Regions from separate parts of the Homo sapiens genome. Here region 2 is linked to region 1. Evidence: promoter capture Hi-C in 16 types of primary human blood cells and fetal thymus (Javierre and others, 2016). All regions are on one chromosome and are shown on one strand. Each heading gives the region's core, a stretch centred on a gene start or on the middle of the fragment in contact. The rest is flanking DNA. Distances are from core to core; before and after follow the strand shown.

Region 1 (3,545 bases), core at 338-2,837:
CTTAATCTGATGAAAGCATTTATGCATTAGGTGGAATCATTTTTCTTGGAAATATTTTAAGAATCAGATGGACAACCACCTGTTTAAATATCATACAGTGTGAAGGCTGTGAGATGAATTCCATGAGTATTTCCCAGACCCTTGGGTTTAATGAACCATTAAAAATAATAACAGCAACCATGATAATAAGGAGGAGGAGATAAACACAGTGGACAACTCTACATTTTACCAAGGAAGGACACTAAAAATGTAAGAATTTTTAATCTTTTTATTTCATAAAACTTATCTCACCTGTGCCCCCCAAATTAGGAAGGACATGGTATCAGAATAAAGCACAGTCACTTTAAAGTGAATATATTTGACTTGATGAAAACTTTATACTGCTGAAGAGTCTGAAACAATAAAGATAAAAATTAAGGCAAACTAAAACTTCATTCCTTTTCCCTTCATTTTACCACAGAGGGTAAAAATTCAACACAGATTGCTATTGTTCTGGGACAGTGTTTGAGACTCCTTACTTCGCCATAGTTATCTAGGCTAGTATTATGTGGCCTATATTTCACAATATTAGCAACTCAGATTAAACACATTGAGCGCTTATTTTCTAGGAACTTATTTAAAACAACCGGCTTCTTCACAAACAGCAAATAAATATACACACACAGAATACTTCCAAGACTTAATGATAACTAACATTTAATCAAGCAAAAGGAAAAAAAAAACCTTAGTAATGTATGTAAATGTTAAATATAGTTCTCTAAGATGTAAGATTTTGTACCTGGAGCTTATGGATGTGTGTTATTGACCTTTGTGTTATGAGGTAATTTGCTTTTTTTTTTCTTCCACATCCACTAACTGGGCGTAAGCTTGGAATGTATATCTTTGAAATTGCAGGTCAAAGCCTCCGCATTAAAGCACCCGATGAGGCAAAGCTACAATTATGTGAGCCATGTGTGTTATGCAACACTTTTTGATAGCTGTTGCCAATTAGACTTAACTTATTGACACACCCGGGGAAGAATTTTCTAAGAAGGCGTGATTCTGAACGTTTGGTTGCACCAAAGAGGAAGAGGGGGCAGTAACTGAGGCTCTGGATCTAAAAGCCTTGCTTGTGGGCCAGGGGAACACGTGATTAAAGCCTTCCTGCAAACAGAGCATCTGCAAACGCAGTTTTAAACCCTTCCTGCAAACAAACCAAGTAAATTTTACTCGAAAAGAGGCCGTGGATGTGCTATTTTGTGTTCCTTTGCTGAGATTCTAAGCTGCTGGGACACACACCGGCCTTGCTTTGGCAAGTCTTCCTTGTTCTTTCTTGACCAGTTTCAGATTTTTTCCTGGTTCAAACACACACAGGGTGGCAGGGAGAGATTTTTGTTTCACGAGTATTCCAAGTGGAGGGGAAAGAGCGGGAGAAAACCGGGAAAAAGCTGCCTTTCCGTGGGGCCTGGCTCTGGGAGGCTACGGTGGGGAAGTTGGGGGGGGTGGTGGTGGGAGAGCTGTCACGTGACTCGTGCAGGGGCTGCTGGGAGTGCGGCGCGCTTCCCACCTCCACCCCCGAAGTCCGAGCACCCCGCGCCCGGGGTCTTCACTCCCTCGCGTTCGCTGACGAGGAAGGTCCCCATACCGCGAAGTACATTGGCCTTGGGGTGGGGCTGGAGGGATGGGCGCCTGTGAGAATGTGACGGACTGTGACACAAGGAAGGGTGCGAGGATGGAAACTTCCTCTGAGGGGCTCTAGTGGGGCGGAAACAACAGTAGGGAGGAAGTGCGGAGGGGCGGCGGGAAGTGAGGGAAAATGGAGGTGAAATGGCCTGAGGGGCTAGGATCGCGTTGAGAAGAGGGAGAAGACTAGAAGGAGACAGCTGCATGGGGCAGAGGGGACAGTGCTTAGTAACAGCCAGGTCACTAAGCCTAAGATGGCAGAGCCAGGGCAGTGGTCAGTGTTTGGCACACGACGAAGACCAGCCCGTCCACCAGGCCTGGATCTGCTGAGGCCTTGAGCCATGACAGGAAAACGAACTTATTTTTGCAGAAACAGTTACTTGATTATAAGTTTTCGTTTGACATAGGTGCACAGTGTTACTTGGGGAGAGAAGAGAAGGGGGTGAAGGGGAAAGGGAAAATTAGAAGGGGAAGGGAAGAGAGAAAAATCTGCCTGTTGGCTTCTCTGAAGTATTTTCCAACTCCCAAGGCAAAGTTAGCACTGCTGTGCATGTGTAGTATTTTCTAGATACTATTAATACTATTACAGCACGTAAACTTACATACTATAAAGGTACTGGCAGGAATGGAGACGTACGATACAGAATTTACTTAACAAGCATCATTCAAATTTGTTGTTGCTCTTTCTGTCTTCTATATATGCATATTTTATAGGACTAATCAAACAGATGTGTTAAAGTTACCCAAATCAGCATCGTTTCTCAAAAACAACAAAGTCAATTGATAACTTGAATATGGACAGGGCTCCCCTCATCTCAAAGACACAGAGACTATACCCTTCCAGGTTTCAACATTTGGACTCCTAGGGAAAATCCCTTCCGAATTTATGGAAAAGTAAAAGTAAAATTTGAAGCTACTTTAAAGTAAGGTTGGACAGTGGGAATAACCTCAGACTCGAGTGAGATCTCGGTTCTAATTTAGCTCAGTCTTACTGGTGTCACTTGATCCACCGTCACTGTCCCTGTTTTCTCACTTGTAAAAAATGAGATTGAATTAGATGAACTGTAAGACCTGTTTAAACATTAAGATTTTGTGAAGATAGAAGAATCCTTTTTTTTTTTTTGAGGTGGAGTCTCGCTCTGTTGCCCAGGCTGGAGTGCAATGGCACAATCTCGGCTCACTGCAACCTCCCTCTCCTGGGTTCAAGCGATTCTCTCACCTCAGCTTCCCAAGTAGCTGGGATTACAGGCGCCTGCCACCACGCCTGGCTAATGTTTGGATTTTTAGTAGACACAGGGTTTCACCATGCTGGCCAGGCTGGTCTCGAACTCCCGACCTCAGGTGATCTTCCTGCCTCAGCTTCCCAAAGTGCTGGGATTACAGCCGTGAGCCAGCGCGCCCGGCCGAAGATAAAAGAATCTTAACTGAGCCAGTCCTGAAACAAGGCAGAATTGCCAGAGAGACTCATTTGGCTAAGTACATAGAGAGGAGTAGTTGAAAATGATGGGACTAGTAGGCTTGCACCAGATAATACAGGACCTTGAAGGCCATATCATGGAATTTCAACTTATTCTGGAACAATGAAAGTTTTTGAGTTAAAGGAATGCAGTAATCAAAGTTTTGAAAGATTACCCAAATAGCAGTTGATAGAATGATTTAGAGGAGGGAGAAATTGAGTTTAGGAAAGTGACAGATAATGACAGTCTAAATTAACATCAGCAGTAGGAGTGGGAAACAGGGAAGGATTCCAGAGAGCTTGTAGCATGGAGTTTGTACCTAAATCTGGCATTGTTCTAAGCTTTGTAGCTGGTGCCTTCGGAATATGATGGCAAATCACCTTGTAAAGCCTGATAATAGAAATTGCAAGAGGCCAAGAGAATTGG
Region 2 (3,545 bases), core at 410-2,909, 33 kb before region 1:
CTGGCTAGCTATATTTGTGTGTGTGTGTGTGTGTGTGTGTGTGTGTGTGTGTGTGTATGTTTTGAGGTAGAGTCTTGCTCTGTCACCCAGGCTGGAGTGCAGTGGCACAATCTTGGCTCACTGCAGCCTCCACCGCCCAGGTTCAAGTGATCCTCCTGCCTCAGCCTCCCAAGTACTAAGATTACAGGCACCCACCACCACACCTGGCTAATTTTTGTATTTTTTGTGGAGATGTGGTTTCACCATATTGGCCAGACTGGTCTCGAACTCCTGATCTCAGGTGATCCACCTGCCTCGGCCTCCCAAAGTGCTGGGATTACAGGTGTGAGCCACCGCACCTGGCCTGCTAGCTAGCTATATTATTTATAGCTACTCCTTAATTATATGCTAAATAAGAGGTGGGTTATTCACATATTTTTTAGAAAAGGTGTGAGGATTCCTGGGATAGAGGGTTTCTCCCCTTCTAAAGCATATAAGGTAACTTCTGGGCATTGCCATAGTGTTTGTAAACTGTCATGGCATTGGTGGGAGTGTCTTTTCATATGCTAATACATTATAATTAGCATATAATGAGCAGTGAGGGTAATTAGAGGTCACTTTTGTCACCATCTTGGTTTTAGCTGGGTTCTTTACCACATCCTGTTCTGACCAGACTGTTTTGTTCAGCGGGGTCATGACTGGTGCCTGGGAAGCAAGTCCTGCTGATCTCCTGCCTCAGAAGGGAGGGGTGGTGGTGGATGCCAATCCCACCCCAATCACCTGCCTGTCATTATCACGGAGGTGGTGAAATGGATCCTGGGTCAGCAGCTGTGGAAATGGAGACAGCTATGCTCCTAAAAGGGCTTTGTGGACAATAGTGAGGCTCTGCTCAGTAGCCAGACATCTCAGCAGATTCAGAGATTGTCAGTATTGACCAAGGATCAGATCCCTACTCACCCTGTCCCTGGCACCTTGGTACTATTTACCCTGTGGAACTTACATACAACTATGTAGAAAGAGGGGCACCCAGCGATTACTCAGATTGAGTTTCCACTACCCTCAGCATAATGAGAACTTGGAGAAGAAATTAAAATATAGAAAATAAAGTTGCATTTCTTACACATCAGTTTGTGGACTTTGACTCATACCTGCTATATCAATTAGGGCTCTGACCTACAGAGAGAACTTCCACAAATCCAAGTTCCCGTGCTCGAAGGAAACAGTCCTTCCTCACATGTGTCTTCAGAAATTCTTCTTGTCCTTCATGGGTTAGCTTAAGTGACACTTTTTCTGTGAAGTCTTTCCCAACCAGCCACCCAGAAGTCCTCCTCTCCCTTTGTGCTTGCTCTTATCCCTCCTGTTGCAGGGTCCCGGTGGAAGGCCCAAGGCTCTGCCCCAATGTGTGCCTCCAGTCTTGAAAGGCATTGTGTTAGGAGAAATATGATATTTGAGAGCTTTCTGGACATATCTCCAACCATCTTTTTTTTTTTTTTTTTAATTAAAGGCTTTAAAAAAGTGAGTTAATGATTCTGAAAATGTCTTGTAGTTCATACTGCAGTCTAAGAACCAAAAAGAGAAAGTGCTTTCTTTGTGTATCAGTTGAGGGATTCTGTGGGGGAAGGTGGAATGTCACAGCATCTTGACACAAATTTGCCTATGCCTTTGATTTTTGTTGTTGTTGTTGTTTTTTATTTTTTGAGACCAGAGTCTTGCTCTGTCACCCAGGCTGGAGTGCAGTGGCACGATCTTAGCTCACTGCAAATTCTGCCTCCCAGGTTCAAGCGATTCATGTGCCTCAGCCTCTCGAGTAGCTGGGATTACAGGCACGCACCACCACACCTGACTAATTTTTGTATTTTAGGAGAGATGGGGTTTCACCATGCTGGCCAGGCTGGTCTTGAACTCCTGACCTCAGGTGATCCATCCACCTCAGCCTCCCAAAGGGCTGGGATTACACCTTTGATTGTTTTTTACTTCCTAGTTCCCTGAACTGAGCTCTGTGAGATACATTGAATTTAAGTCCTAGACAAAAGACACGGTCCACTCCTAAGGACCCATCCATGAACGTTTGCTATCACCATCAGAAGAAAAAATCAAGGCTAAATTTTGAGCAGGACTGCAGATGTGAGTAAAAAATTTGTTCAGTTATATGGGTTTTGTGAATCTGGAAACGATCATAGATTTAGCAAAATTCCAAGCTGTGAAGTGCTATTTTCTATGGATTAGGTAAAATTGGATTTGTGTGTGTGTGTGTGTGTGTGTGTGTGCAACAAAATCAAAAGTGTAAAATTTGGAAAACAAACATGCAAAACAAAGCAGGCTTTTATGTCCTGACATTTTCTTTCAGTTATAAAGCCCATGTGTTGAAAGATAGGGCAAAAGCAACATACGGCTACGAGCCAGAAAGACAGGAGGCAATGATGCTTTTATTCCTTTAGGGTGGGAAATGAGTTTACACAGTGCAGGAAGAGAAATGACATAAAACAGGGTGGGATTAGTTCTTGTAGGGAGGAAAGGCCTCTTTTCTCTCCTGCACGTGATGTGTAGTGTGTGAGGTCTGGTGGGGGTGAGTGGTGGGTGTATGGAGAAGTGTAGGAAGGGAAATAATACTTCTTTTTTTTTTTTTTTTTTTTTTTGAGACGGAGTCTCGCTCTGTCGCCCAGGCCGGACTGCGGACCGCAGTGGCGCAATCTCGGCTCACTGCAAGCTCCGCTTCCCGGGTTCACGCCATTCTCCTGCCTCAGCCTCCCGAGTAGCTGGGACTACAGGCGCCCGCCACCGCGCCCGGCTAATTTTTTGTATTTTTAGTAGAGACGGGGTTTCACCTTGTTAGCCAGGATGGTCTCGATCTCCTGACCTCATGATCCACCCGCCTCGGCCTCCCAAAGTGCTGGGATTACAGGCGTGAGCCACCGCGCCCGGCCGGGAAATAATACTTCTTAGCTATGGTGTTCCAGTACCAGATACCACTGGGAGCTTTATCTCATTTAATCCGTACAACCATCTTATGAGGTAGGTATTTCTTATCATTCCCATTTACATGTAAGAAAACCAAGCCTCAGAGAGATTGTGTCCAAAGTACACTTTGTACTTGGTTTTGGGACAAGCCTTGGGTTATGGAACAAGATATAAAACAAGGTTGTGTGTCTGCAAAACCCATTCTCCTCATTTCATCATTTCACACTGCATCTTTAAATGTCCACATCATATTATAAGAAGTCAACATATAAAGAAGCGAGACCAAAGAAGCTGAGAAAATGAATGGGGTTGGGTGCAGTGGCTCACACCTATAATCCCAGCACTTTGGGAGGCCGAGGTGGGAGGATTACTTGAGCCCAGGAGTTTAAAACCAGCCTGGGCAACATAGTGGAACATTGTCTCTACAAAAAATAAAAAAGTCAGCAGGGCATTACCTTGCACACCTGTAGTCCCAGCTACTCGAGAGACTGAGGTGGGAGAATCCCTTAAGTCCACAGGTTTGAGGCTACAGTGAACCATGATCATGCCACCGCAGTCCAGTCTGAGTGACAAGAGTGAGACCCTGTCTCAAAAATAGAAAAGAAAAG

What was found. The method cuts DNA at HindIII sites, captures the fragments that hold promoters and counts their contacts. A CHiCAGO score of 5 or more calls a contact.
Region 2: a contact is called between a fragment that was not itself captured here and the fragment with the promoter of TEX12 in region 1, in 1 of 17 cell types (neutrophils). The highest score is 6.2, in neutrophils.

Annotation. Positions count from the first base shown.
Region 1 is chr11:112,165,785-112,169,329 of GRCh38, forward strand. TEX12 (testis expressed 12) reads left to right here and starts at 1,588. Exons shown (of 5, transcript NM_031275.4): 1 at 1,588-1,703; 2 at 3,469-3,545. The coding sequence starts at 3,485. TEX12-AS1 (TEX12 antisense RNA 1) reads right to left here and starts at 1,359. Exons shown (of 3, transcript XR_001748384.2): 1 at 1,279-1,359; 2 at 292-392. The HindIII fragment of the contact is 2,594 bases long and covers 865-3,458 here.
Region 2 is chr11:112,132,252-112,135,796 of GRCh38, forward strand. No RefSeq gene overlaps it. Among named protein-coding and RNA genes, the nearest start is that of IL18, 30 kb to the right of the region's middle. The HindIII fragment of the contact is 8,771 bases long and covers 1-3,545 here.